Linked DNA regions of Homo sapiens: region 2 is linked to region 1. Evidence: promoter capture Hi-C in human tissues and cell types (Jung and others, 2019). All regions are on one chromosome and are shown on one strand. Each heading gives the region's core, a stretch centred on a gene start or on the middle of the fragment in contact. The rest is flanking DNA. Distances are from core to core; before and after follow the strand shown. Region 1 holds the start of ADAM32 (ADAM metallopeptidase domain 32). Region 2 overlaps ADAM32 (ADAM metallopeptidase domain 32).

Region 1 (6,968 bases), core at 3,002-5,501:
TATATATGTTTATAAATATCCAGAGATTATTCTGATGTAAAGCCAAATTTGGCCTCAACTATCCCACCTTAGGAAAAGACTGATACATAAATGCGTATGTCACTTCAAAAATCTAGCAGGTATCATAGCTTTTACATCAAATTTAGGCAAAGCCTCAGAATCATTTTCAACAAAACATGGTAGGTAGTCACTGCCACTCCATCGGATGTCAGCTTTTCCCAACTTGTTCTTTTTTTTTTTCCTTTTTTTTTTTTTTTTTTTTTTGAGAAAGAGTCTTGCTCTGTTGCCCAGGCTGGAGTGCAGAGGTGCGATATTGGCTCACTGCAACCTCCACCTCGCAGGTTCAAGCAATTCTGCCTCAGCTGGGATTACAGGCATGTGCCACCACAATCAGCTAATTTTTGTATTTTTTTTAGTAGAGATGGGGTTTCACCATGGCCAGGCTGGTCCTGAACTCCTGGCCTCAAGTGATCCACCCACCTTGGCCTCCCAAAGTGCTGGGATTACAAGCATAAGCCACCATTCCCAGCCTCTTCCCAATTTGTTCTATGTCAAGACTATCCTAATCAAAATCTAAGCAAGCTATTTTGTGGATATCAACCAACATATTCTACTGTTTACATGAGGAGGTAAAAGACCCAGAATAGCCAACTCATTATTGGGGGATAACAAAGTCCAGAAGAGGAAATGGACATACCTATACCACTGAGCCTAACAGTTTCTTTGTAAGTACATATCCAAGAGAAATGAAAACATATGTCCACACAAAAACTGGTACATGAAGGTTCCTAGCAGCATTACTCCTAACAGCCAAAAGTTGGAAACAATCAAATGTCCATCAACTGATGAATCAGTAAACAAACGGGTGAATATATACAATGAAATATTATTCAGTCACAAAAAGGAATGAAGTTCTAATGCATTCTACAACAGAGACGAACCTTGAAAACATTATGCAAGTGAATTAAGCCAGACAAAAAAGGTCATATTTTGTATGATTCCATTTATACGAAATACCCAGAATAGATAAATCCAAAGGGACAGTGGCTGCCAGATAAATCCAAAGCAGATCAGTGGCTGCCAGGGGCTGGAAGCAGGAGGACATGAGGAGTGACTGCTTAATGTGAAAATGCCATCCCCAAATTGCTGAGCAAGATCCCTCAGCTGATGGGACCATCAGCAGTTTGGAGCTGGCATTTTCATTTGAAAGTTTAAATTCTCTCTTCTGAGTTATAATAAAAAAGACAGCCAGGATTTCTTGCACTTGTAGTTATGCATATAATTTATAATATGACAGCATTAATAAAAGAAGTTCTCATTCATTGCTGGGGTGAATGCAAATGGTACAGCCACTTTGGAAGACAGCTTGGCAGTTTCTTTAAAAACTAAATATACTCTTATCATATGATTCAGCAATAGCATTTCTTGGTATTTACCCAAATGAGTTGAAAACTTATGTCCACACAAAAACCTGCACATAGATGTTTATAGCAGCTTTATTCATAACTGCCAAAGCTTAGAAGCAACCAAGATGTCATTTGGTAGGTAAATGGATAAATAAACTGTGGTAGATCCAGACAATTGAATATTATTCAGCACTAAAAATAAAAAAGCGGCCGGGTGCAGCGGCTCATGCCTGTAATCCTAGCACTTTGGGAGGCCAAGGTGGGTGGATCACTTGAAGTCAGGAGTTCGAAACCAGCCTGGTCAACACAGTGAAACCCCATCTCTACTAAAAATACAAAAAAATTAGCTGGGCATGGTAGCAGGCACCTGTAATCCCAGCTATTTGGGAGGCTGAGGCAGGAAAATTGCTTGAACCGGGAGGCGGAGTTTGCAGTGAGCCAAGATCCTGCCACTGCACTCCAGCCTGGGCGACAGAGTAAGACACCATCTCAAAAAAACAATTAAGTAAGTAAATAAGCTATCAAGCCATGAAAAGGCATGGGAGAACCTTAAATGCATATTATTAAGTAAAAAAAAAGTCCATCCAAAATGGCTACATATGATTTCAAATACATGACACTCTGGAAAAGGCAAAACTAAGAAGACTAAGGAGATGAGTTGTTGCCAGGGGCAGTGGGGAGGGAGGGATAAATAAGCAGAACACATGGGATTTGTAGGGCAGTGAAACTATTCTGTATAATACTACAATGGTGGATGCATGTCATTGTACATTTGTCAAAACCATAGAATGGGCAATGTGGAGAATGAACCCTAATGCAAACAAACTGTGGACTTTGGATGATAACAATGTGTCAGTGTAGGCTCAATTGTAACAAATGGATCCCATGGTGCCAGATGTTGATAGTGGGAGAAGCTGTTCATATTTGGGATCAGGGGCTATATGGGAACTCTTTCAGCTCAATTTTGCTATGAACCTAAACGTACTCTAAAAAATAATGTTCATTAATATTTTTTTTTTATTTTATTTTTTGAGATGGAGTTTTGCTCTTGTCACCCAGGCTGGAGTGCGATGGTGCCATCTCAGCTCACTGCAACTCCTGCCTCCTGGGTTCAACCGATTCTCCTGCCTCAGCTTCCCGAGTAGCTGGGATTACAGGCACGCACCACCACGCCCAGCTAATTTTTTTGTATTTTAGTAGCAATGGGGTTTCACCATGTTGGCCAGGCTGATTTCAAACTCCTGACCTCACTCAGGTGATCCACCTGCCTCAGCCTCCCAAAGTGCTGGGATTACAGGCGTGAGCCACCACGCCTGGCCGTTACTTTTATTTTTAATGAATGAAATACACATTCTTACATTTCTATTTTAATTTCTAATATGTTAAACATCGATATAAATCCACATAAACAAAAGCTCTTTGAGAATCTCAAAAATTGTTCATGTATAAGGCAGTTCTGAACCCAAAAACTTTGACAACCACTGCATTAAAATTTTGTATGTGTTATGAACTGAATGTATCCCACAAAATTCTATGTTGAATCCCTAACCCCCAATGTGACAGTATTTGGTTATGGCCTTTGGGAGGTAATCAGGGTTTTAGGCATAGAGTGGGACCCTCATGATGAGATTCATGCCCTTATAAGATGAGACATCAGAGAATTTCCTCCTCCTGTCTTTCCCTGTACACAAAGAAAAGGTCCTGTGAGTACGCAGGGAGAAGGTAGCTGTTTACAAGCCAGGAAGAGAACACTCACCCTAATCTAACCAGGCTGACACCCTGGCCTTGACCACACCTCTGCTATGCTGCAGAGGTAATTATGGCAGGATAGGAAGAAGAGTAGGAAGAGTTCTCAAAAATTTACAGTATCACCAGGGAGGCTTACATGCAAGTAAAATGTTTGGATATGCCCGTATTTTTTTCCTTCTCTTATTACATACTATTCTGAATCTTGTCAGCCAGAGTCAGTACATGGCATGTCTTACTTCCTCCCTCTCCACAGTGGTCCATTTGCATTGTTTGGAGATAACCACAGTTTATTTAGCAGTTCTCTTACTAATGAACTTTTACAGTTTTTCAATCATTTTGCTGTTAAGTACTATATTAGTCAGCTCCCACTGCCATAACAAAATAGTGTAGACTGCATGGCTTAAACAACAGAAATTTATTTTCCTCATAGTTCTGGAGAACTACGATCTGGAGTCTCCCTCTGTTGCCTACTGTTGCCCACTGCACTCCAGCCTGGGCGACAGAAGGGACTCGGTCACACACAAAAATAATTTTTTTAATTTATAAAAAAGACAGGATCTCTGTCGCCCAGGCTGGAGTCCAGTGGGGGCGATCTTGGCTCACTGCAGCCTCCACCTCCTGGACTCACGTGGTCCTCCTCCCTCAGCCTCCCGGGTAGCTGGGATCACAGGTGCGCACCACCACCTCGGAACATTTTTTTAAATTTTTTTGTAGAGATGGGGTCTTGCTGTGTTGCCCAAGCTGGTCTCCAACTCCGAGGTCAAACAATCAGCTCGCCTCAGTCTCTCAAAGCCCTGGGATTACAGGCGTGAGCCCTGGTGCTGGGCCCTGAGTCGCTTCTCCATCCGGACGGGGCGCCTAATCCCCTGGAAAAGGCCCCGTTGCCAGGGTGACAGGACCAAAGGGACCCAGACAGGGAGGGCCCCGGGCTTTGCAGGGAGTCGGGCCGCAGTGTGACGAGCGCCCGGACTAGTGTCAGGGTCTGGGCTGGCTCACCGGGTCTTGACGCCAGGAGGCCGCAGAGCCCGGCCAGCAGCAACCAGAGGCGGAACATGGTGCGGCTTCGGGGCTGCCAGCGGGAAGCCGTTGGGAAGTCGGGAATTGCCAGGGACGCGGGGACGCGCGGACGCCGGGGGCCGCTCCCCGCACGTTCATGGGACAGCGTTCTCCGGAGGCCCCGGAGACGGGGTGCTCTCGGTGTTTAGCGTCCGGAACACGAAGGGCCCGCAGCGTGCGCCCCGAGGCTAAAACATCCAGCTCCCTTCCCGGCGCACCCCAGCCGCGTGGTTGCTGGAGCCACTGACCACCCAGCGCCCTCTGTCGAGATCGCGCTCGTAGTCCTCCACTAACTTTTCGCTTTGTGTTGCTGGACCTTAAGAACTGACACACTTATTCACAGTCAGCGTGTGCTCTCCTGCACCAGACACTTCCCAGTTGCTTTTTTTTCTTTTTGGGACGGGGGTGCTCACTATTCTGCCCAGGCTGGTCTCGAACTCCTGGGTTCAAGTGATCCTCCCTCCTCAACTTCCTGAGTAGCTGGGATTACAGGCATCTGCCACCGTTCGGGGCTTCCTAGGTCCTTTCAAAAGCGAATGTGTAATACTTTCTGAATTAAAATCTATATACACACCTAAATATATATTCATATTTGCCAAACCTGTTTCTAATATTTTTTCAAAACTATTTAGCCAGATGTGTGAACATTCCAAAGAAGGGAAAAGTGAGCCGCTTTTCAATATGAAATGCCAGCTCTTCATATTTTTGAAGAGCGCCAGCTGCATTTTTTTCCCCACTGACGCTGCCCAAATGGACTTCACAACCAGGCTTTTTCCTCCAATCTGGTTCTCCGCAGGCCATTGGCTAAAACTCATGTGATGTCATTCTATTGTTCAGAAACTTCTCAGTGCAATAAATACTTATTTCATGTAGTGAAAGATTTAGAGATTCTTGCCCACAATTACAGTAATTACATTCCAGTAGAAAATTCTAGCCTCAGCATAGTAATTTTTCTGAACTCAGACCGGAACCTGCCACTTAATTTCTCCTATCCCGTGTTTTAGCAGCTCTGACTTTGGGTTTTTCCTAAACACTGCTTTACTCCCTGGAACTGCAATGCCTCCTCCTTCCCAGCCTCACACCTGGTCTCCATCTGTATGCATTAGCTTTTCATTCTTTTCAAATCCCAAAGAATGGATTAATTTCTCATACTACATAATAGGCCAACACATAAACTAAAAGGCCTCATGGGAACAGAGAAAAATCTCACTTGGGGAACTAAGACATTTAAAGTGAAGATGTGATTTTTATGGATGCACGCAATTTCAACAGGGCAATCTACACCTGAAATTAATAGCATGAACAAAAACAAGGCAACAGGCCAGGTGAGGTGGCTCACGCCTGTAATCCCAGCACTTAGGGAGGCCGAGGTGGTTGGATCACCAGAGGTCAGGAGTTTGAAACCAGCCTGGTCAACATGGTGAAACCCCGTTTCTACTAAAAAATACAAAAATTAGCCGGGCATGGTTGTGGGCGCCTGTAATCCCAGCACTTGGGGAGGCTGAGGAAGGAGAATCGCTTGAGCCCAGGAAGTGGAGGTTGCAGTGAGCCGAGATTGTGCCATTGCCCTCCAGCCTGGGTGACGAGCAAAACTCCATCTGGGGCAGGTGGAGGGGTGGGGTGGGGAACAAGGCAACAAAAAAATACACTGAGCTTGTATCTCAATAGGAACAGCCAATGCTAAGCTAACACTGCTTTTAGGCAGCTGCTGAGCCACAGCTAGTTTCACCTTGCTTTGTAACAAACAGAAGAGCAATTACAGTAAATGCTTCAACTCATCAATTAGTGGTAAGTATTCTGAATGAATTTCTGGCTCTTGTATTATTTTGTTCTTTCTTACTCCTCAACCTTTCTGGTTTGTATCTTTAATAGGGTTGATTTTGTATTATTCTTGTGTGTATGCCTCTCTTCATAACAGAGGATGCACTTCTAAAAGTCGGGAAACATATCCTATCCAGAACTTAGATATCACAGTACCTAATACAGTGCCTGAAAAATGGTAGGTTTTAGTAAACATTTATGAAATTTAATAAAATCTGATTTGAGTTTAGAAAACCCAAATTGTGCTTAACTCTATGGTTACAGACACAGGAGAAAGCGAGAATGCAATACTCTGAACAAGGTCAGTTTGACATACAGAGTCAAACAGAGATGTCAAACTTGCATATAATTTACCCTTATTTATTCTTTTTGAAGAAAGAAAGGATGTCCTTTAATATTTTCAAATTTTGAAGTGGCATCCATGACCAAGTAAGTAAAAAACATAAAGCATATTAAAAAATATATAAAAGAAGTTCAGATCCAATAGTCTTTTTAAAAACTTAACTAGTCAAATATCCAAAGAACTATTTAATTCCAAGTGTTAAGTTACATAGTTAATACATTACCAACTGTAAAATTTCAGTGATATGCATCACAATTGCAAAAACTGAGGCTACATGAGTGAACAGCACAAACGTTTGAGTCTTATATGAATTCATTTAGAGATTTAAAATGAAACGATGGACCTTCATTTGAGATTGCTCACAATTTTTAATATGTATACTTGATTGTTAAAATAACATGCTGTCTTCAGAAAACTGAAATTTTTGCCTTCTTCAAAACTAATCTGTTCTTTATTAACAAAAAGCCATTGTGCACACTTTGGCAAAAGTCTGAAAATTAGTGAGATAATATCTGTAAAAATTTGACTAGAATTTTTATCTAAAATTATAACTTTTTAATTAATGAGATTATAAATAGTTGAGTAGGAAGCTA
Region 2 (6,968 bases), core at 3,009-5,508, 150 kb before region 1:
CAAGATCATGCCTCTGCACTCCAGCCTGGGCAACAAGAGCAAAGCTTCGTCTCAAAAAAGAAAGAAAAATGAAACCAAGAAAATAGATGATAGAAAAAGGAAAAAAAAAACAAAAAACATGGTAAATAGGAAAAAAGTAGGATGGCAAATTTCAGCCTAAACATATGTCATCATGGATTAAGCATATGAGCATAATGAACTCCATTAGTGCATTTCATATAAAGGCTGTTTATAAGACACCAGCTAAATGCAAAGACAGATTGAGAAAAAAACGAAAAAAGTTGTACCAGGTAAACGTCATTTTTAAAGAGAAAGTTGATATAGCAATCTAAAACAGTGAAAATTGTATTTAAGATATTATTAGTAATGATTAAAGGAAAATACATCAAGAAAATTTAACTAAAATAAACATTATGCATTTAGTCACTGCCTCAGAATATCTGAAGCGAAAATTTCAACAATCAGAGGGAAAGCTACAACCCACTGAAAATTTTACTTTGCCTCTCACAGAAGACAAAGTATCAAACGGACAGGAAAAAAACCCAGTATGTATAAAAATGATTTGAAACAACACAATTAAAAAGTTGGTCCTAAAAACATTGGAGGACACATATCAAGCTTACACATTTATAAAAATTTACTTCATTTTTTGTTCCAACATTTAAGAGAACCACATAGACAAGTTTCTCAAAATAAGCTAATAAAATTAGAAAATTATTTTTAAAACAATGAAAATAAATCATATAATTGAAAACTAAAGATTACAATTGATTCATTATTTAAACAAGAAATCCTGCTAGATTTTTCAAATTTTTTTAACTGAATGTCGACTATCATTTAAAAACTGGAGAGTATAAAGGAAATGATATATGTTAAGGAGAAGGTTTTTGCTATTAAAGTATTTCTTATTTTAGAAAATAAGAAGGGTTGAAAATTAATAAAGAAAGCATTAAAATCAAGAAATCTAGAGTTACAACAGAGCAAAGGTAAAAAGACCAGAAAGGAGGAAAAAGAGCAAAACTTGATATAAAAAACAATAGAAATAGAGACCACAATGAAACCAAAAGTTACATGTTTCAAACTACTAACAAAATAAAAACACCTCTGAGCGGACTGCTCATGAAAAAGAAAAAAAAAAGACAAAACAAACAAACCAAAATTGAAAAAGAAATGCATCTGCAGAGAAAGTATAGCTATTTAAAATTATACATAAAACAATACTAGGTAGGTTATGGGATATGGATAATGCCACGTGTATTAAAAACATGTAAGATACACAAACATTCAGTGTAGACATCCTCTACAGGGAGGGAAGGGGATCATACCAGAAGGAATTGCAGCTGCAAATACAATGGCTTATTTTATAAGAGAAACAAGAAAAATATTAATATCTGTTTATTTCCCATGGTGGGCAAGAGGATGTTTGTCATGTTGTTCTCTGTCTTAGTGTTTGAATTATTTCTTGAAAAATAAAAATGTAATAATCTAAATTACAAATTTCCCTTCTGAAAATTTAACCCAAAGAATATTTTTAAAATTACTTCTTATATGAGCCAGCAATGTGAATTAAAATATTTAGTCTGTAGTAAGGCCCTGAAATCTGCATTTTTAATAAATACTTCTGTTGTAGATGATACAGATCATCCCCTTTGATAAGAAAAGAACAGATATTACGTAAACATTTGACTTCTTCCTCTCTCAACTAGCAGTTCAATGACTTTGGCAAACTATGTAAATTACACTTCCAAATCTTTGTGTCTTAAAAATGGGTATTCACAGCTACCTCATAAAATTAAATGACATATTGATGTAATACTCAAAATCCCAGTGATATGTAAAGTATTGCTACTGCTCGTGATATTGTCTTACATATAACTAGATTCAAATGGTACTAATGTTTAACTTCAGAACACAAATGCAATTTACTCGCTACTTGGGAATTCCTCTTCCTTGGCGAACCACTTTTTCAACTGTTTCCTTGCCAAAACTATTGCGGTTGTTACAATGAGAATAGGAAGAGCAATGAGGAAACCTAGAAGCCAGGTGTTTTCAGTCTTCCCAGATGCTCTTTCCATGATTGAACCTAAAAACAGAAATACAAAAAAAAAAAAACAAAAAAATTAAACTATCTACTTTTACTTTCAAGTTGCAACACATTCATTAAAATCTTCTGAATTTGTATTGTTATTCAAGGAACATGGAAAAAATCATTATAGAATTGTAATCATAATCCTTGGGGCTACCTGTACAACGTTTCATTCTAAAAGCATGGAAACCAAGTTTTGGAAAGTTCAAAAGTATTCAAGTCTCACAGCAGCTACAGCAAAATCTCACTATAACCCTCTAAGTAGGGACAAAAAAATTCAATGATATACAACGTGGGATTGTGTAATTGCATGGTTATCCAAAAATGCACTCTTACAAGGTGCATTATCAAAGGAATTCAGTGTATTTGTGTATATCTTATTTTTCTTTGGTAGATTGTTGGCTTTTGGCCTTGGGGATCATGTTGTAAATGGGGTCATTGCAATACTACTAAAAGGGCACTGGCATAAAAATTAGAAGAATTGATTCCTAATCCTAATTCTGTCCCTTGCTATCACTGGATACATAGACCTAAACATATTCTCTAAACTCCATGAGGAGAAGAACTTCATTTTGCTCACCGTACATCCCCAGTGTGTAGACCAGCACCTGGACCTGGCATATATTAAGAGTTCAGTAAACATTTGCTAACTCAATAAATGAATTAATGACAGAAATGGAAGCTGTGGGGCACAAACAGAATAATATGCCAGCATCACTTCTGTCATCTCCTAAGCAGAAATTGATGGATTTTTCTGATTTAAATGATAAACTCCTTCAGAGTAAAATCTTGTCTTCTATTTCATTTCTTCTGTAACAGAAACACAGTAACAGTACTAGACACAGAGAAAATGTCATTTGTTTAGAGCTGAGGTCACAGGATCAGTCATAAAGCTGAGGAAGAGAGGTTGAAAATATTCTAAAAGATAAAGTCAATGATATCAGTAAAGAGAAATTTTAAAAGGTATTCAGCGTGAATTATGATATTTTAATGTTAGAAAAAAGAGCAAGACAAGATCGGGCACATTCAGGCTGGTATGGCCATAGACAATAAGGCTAAAGTCACCAAAACAGCATGGTACTGATATAAAAATAGACACAGAGACCAATGGAATGGAATAGGGAATCCAGAAATAAAGCCAAGTACGTACAGCCAACTGATCTTCAACAAAGCAAACAAAAACATAACATGGGGAAAGGACACCCTATTCAACAAATGGCACTGGGATAACTGGCAAGCCATATGTAGAAGAATTAAACCAGATCCTCATCTCTCACCTTATACAAACATCAACTCAAGAGGGATCAAAGACTTAAATTTAAGACCTGAAACCATAAAAATTCTAGAATATAACATCAGGAAACTATTCTAGACATTGGCTTAGGCAAAGCGTTCATGAGCAAGAACCCAAAAACAAATGCAATAAAAACAAAGATAAATAGAAGGGACTTAATTAAATTTAAAAGCTTCTGCGAAGCAAAAGATATAATCAGCAGAGTAAACAGATAACCCACAGAGTGGGAGGAAATCTTCACAAACTATGCATCTGACAAAGAACTAATATCCAGAATCTATAAGGAACCCAAACAAATCAGCAAGAAAAAAAGGAATTCCATCAAAACATGGGCTAAGGACATGAATAGGTAACTCTCAAAAGAAGATATACAAATGGCCAACAAACATATGAAAAAATGCTCAACATCACTAATGATCAGGGAAATGTAAATCAAAACCACAATGCAATACCACCTTACTCCTGCAAGAATGGTCATAATTTAAAAATCAAAAAATAATAGATGTTGGCATGGATGTGCTTAAAGGGGAGCACTTTTACGTTGTTGGTGGGAATGTAAACTAGCACAGCCACTACGAAAAACAGTATGGCAATTTCTTGAAGAACCAAAAGTAGATCTACCATTTGATCCAGCAATCCCACTATTGGAAATCTACCCAGAGGAAGTCATTATATAAAAGTCATTACATAAAAAGACGCTAACACAAATGTTTATAGCAGCACAATTTGCAACTGCAAAAATATGGAACCAGCCCAAATGCCCATCAATCAGTGAGTGAATAAAGAAAGTGTGATGTATATATACACCATGGAATACTACTCAGCCATTAAAAGGAACAAAATAATAGCATTCGCAGCAACCTGGATGGAGTTTGAGACCATTATTCTAAGTGAAGTAACTCTTCACTTGAAGAATGGAAAACCAAATATCATATGTTCTCACTCATAAGTGGGAGCTAAGCTATGAGGACACAAAGGCATAAGAATGATACAATGGACTTTGGGGTATTGAGGGGAAGGATAGGAGTAGGTGAGGTATAAAAGACTACACATTGGGTACAGTATACACTGCTTGGGTGATGGCTGCACCAAAATCTCAGAAATCACCACTAAAGAACTTATCCATGTTACCAAAATCCACCTATTCCTCAAAAACCTATTGAAATAAAAAAAATTAATTGATTAGTTAATTATAAAGAAAAGAGAGCAAGATTAAGATGGCATGTTTGGTTTCCATTCCTTGAGAGAATTCTGATTACCTTTTTATTACAAATATCAGTTGCCTTGTAAGTGGAAAAATCGAACTTTGTTTTAGTGAAGATAAGCAATTTGAGAATTTTATTAAATGGGTATTTAAAGAGACAAATACTTGCCCATATCTTCCTCAGGAAATATGGAAAATCCTTTGGAACGTATTTGGCAGTTTGGAGGCTTATAGCCTGGCGAACAATGGCACTTGTTTCTGGAATCACACACCTAGGATCATTTTGAAAAATTAAATGATTGTTTTAAAATATTTTCTCAGAGAAGGTGAGCATCAAGCTTACTTTTGTACCATAATCTAGTGTAATTTTGTTTATTTAGAGCGACAGTCTCACATATCAAATGTTTGGTTTCTTAGACTACAACACAGACACACACACAAAGCAAAAAAAAAAAAAAAAGAACTATAAAGTGAGGCTCTCAATATTTGCATCAAGAAAATTTGACACCTTGAAATGTTTACCTACAAATTTACGATGCAATTTCAAAAATGCATACTTAAATTATAATGAAAATGTGACCCCTCCAGTGACATGCTGGAGCCAGCATATATGAGTCTATCTTTGAGCTATTTTCATCCATCGCTTTATATGTCTCTATTTTATGACAGTAACATCCTGTTCTGGTTACTGTACCTTTGTACTGTATTTTGAAAAGCTTTGTTCTTCTTTTTAAAAATTGCTTCTAATTATCTGGATTTTTTTCATCTTATATAATTTTTTTATTTTCTATTTCTTTGAAAAATAACATGGAGATTCTGATAAGGATTGCATGGAATCTGTAGATAATTTTGACTATTAGGGATAGTTTAACAATATTAGTTTCTTCAATCCGTGGAATATCTTTCAATTTTTTGTGTCTCTTTTACTTTTTTTCATGTTTCATAGTTTTCAGTGTACAAGTCGTTCACCTCCTTGGTTTGTTTTAAACCTAAGTATTTTATTCTTTTTGATGCTGTTGTAAATGGGATTGTTTAACTAATCTCCTTTCCTGACCGTCTGTTTTTGACGTATAAAAATGAACTGATTTTTGAGTGTTGTTTTTGTGTCCTGCAACTTTACTGAATTCATTATTTCTTCTACTAGTTTTATGGAACCTTTATGGTTTCCTGTGTATACAATCATGGCATTTGCAAACAGAAGCTACTTTATTTCTACTTTCCCATTTGGATGCTATTTATTTCTTTTCCTTGCCTCATTGCTTCATCTAGGAATTCCAGTACCAAGTTGAAGAGAAGTGCAGAGACTGAGTATCCTTGCATTGTTATAGATCTTAAAGTAAAGGCGTTCATTATTTCACCATTGAGTATAATTTTAGCTATGGATTTTTACATGTAGGCTTTCTGCTATTCCTAACGTATTGAGTTTTTATAATGAAAGGGTGTTGGATTTTGTCAAATGCTTTTTCTGCATCTTAATGTCATAAAGTAAATTGATCTTTCATCTTCTTAATGTGGCATATCTCATTAATTGATCTGTGCATTTTGAACCATCCTTGCATCCCAGGAATAAATCCCATCTGGTCATAGTGTATGATTCTTTTAACGTGCGGCAAATATAGTTTGTTAATGTCTTGCTGTAAATTTTTGCATGCATGTTTGTAGATATATTAGCCTGCAATTTTATTTTCTTGTTTAATTCTTCTGTAAATGTTTAACAGAATTCATTTGTGAAGCCCCCTAGTCCTGAGATTTTCTTCGCTAGAAAGTTTTGTTTACTGATTTAATCTCTTTATTTGTTATTGTTCTGTTCAGGCTATTTATTCTTGATTCAGTCTTGGCAGGTTGTATCATCCTAGGAATTTATAAATTTCTTCTAGGTTATCCAACTTGTTGGTGTATAAATATACACCACAGTATCTTCTTAAAAAATTTCTGTGACATCAGTTGTAATATCTGCTCCTTCATTTCTGATTTTGAGTCTTATTTCTTTTTTTCTTGCTATTTTACCTAAGAGTTTGTCCTTTTTTTAATCTTTTCAAAAACTCAACTCTTAATTTCCTTGATTTTGTCTATTATTTTTCTATTCTCTATCTTATTTGTGCTCTAATCTTCATAACTTCCTACTGCAAACTTGGAGTTTGTTCAATTTTTTTCTAGTTTCTTGAGGTGTAAAGTTAGAATGTTTATTTGAAATCTTTATTCTTTTTAATGTAAGAATTTATCACTATAAATTTCCCTTTAGTACTGTTTTTGCCACATCCCTTTTTTTTTTCATTTTTTGTTTGTCTTGAGATATTTTCTAATTTCCGTTTTGATTTGTTGTTTAGCCCAATGGTTGTTCACTCATGTGTTATTTAATTTTCATGTATTTTTTAAGTTTTCCC

What was found. Contacts are between HindIII fragments. The study calls those that stand out against the background at their distance.
Region 2: a contact is called between a fragment that was not itself captured here and the fragment with the promoter of ADAM32 in region 1, in 1 of the 25 tissues and cell types used here (dorsolateral prefrontal cortex).

What each region holds. Positions count from the first base shown.
Region 1 is chr8:39,105,017-39,111,984 of GRCh38, reverse strand. It overlaps ADAM32 (ADAM metallopeptidase domain 32), which reads right to left and starts at 4,251. Exons shown (of 25, transcript NM_145004.7): 1 at 4,152-4,251. The coding sequence starts at 4,209. It overlaps ADAM9 (ADAM metallopeptidase domain 9), which reads right to left. Exons shown (of 22, transcript NM_003816.3): 22 at 6,724-6,968. The HindIII fragment of the contact is 10,909 bases long and covers 1-6,968 here.
Region 2 is chr8:39,252,302-39,259,269 of GRCh38, reverse strand. ADAM32 (ADAM metallopeptidase domain 32) reads right to left here. Exons shown (of 25, transcript NM_145004.7): 18 at 4,754-4,856; 19 at 1,927-2,083. Among named protein-coding and RNA genes, the nearest start is that of ADAM32, 150 kb to the right of the region's middle. The HindIII fragment of the contact is 4,346 bases long and covers 2,086-6,431 here.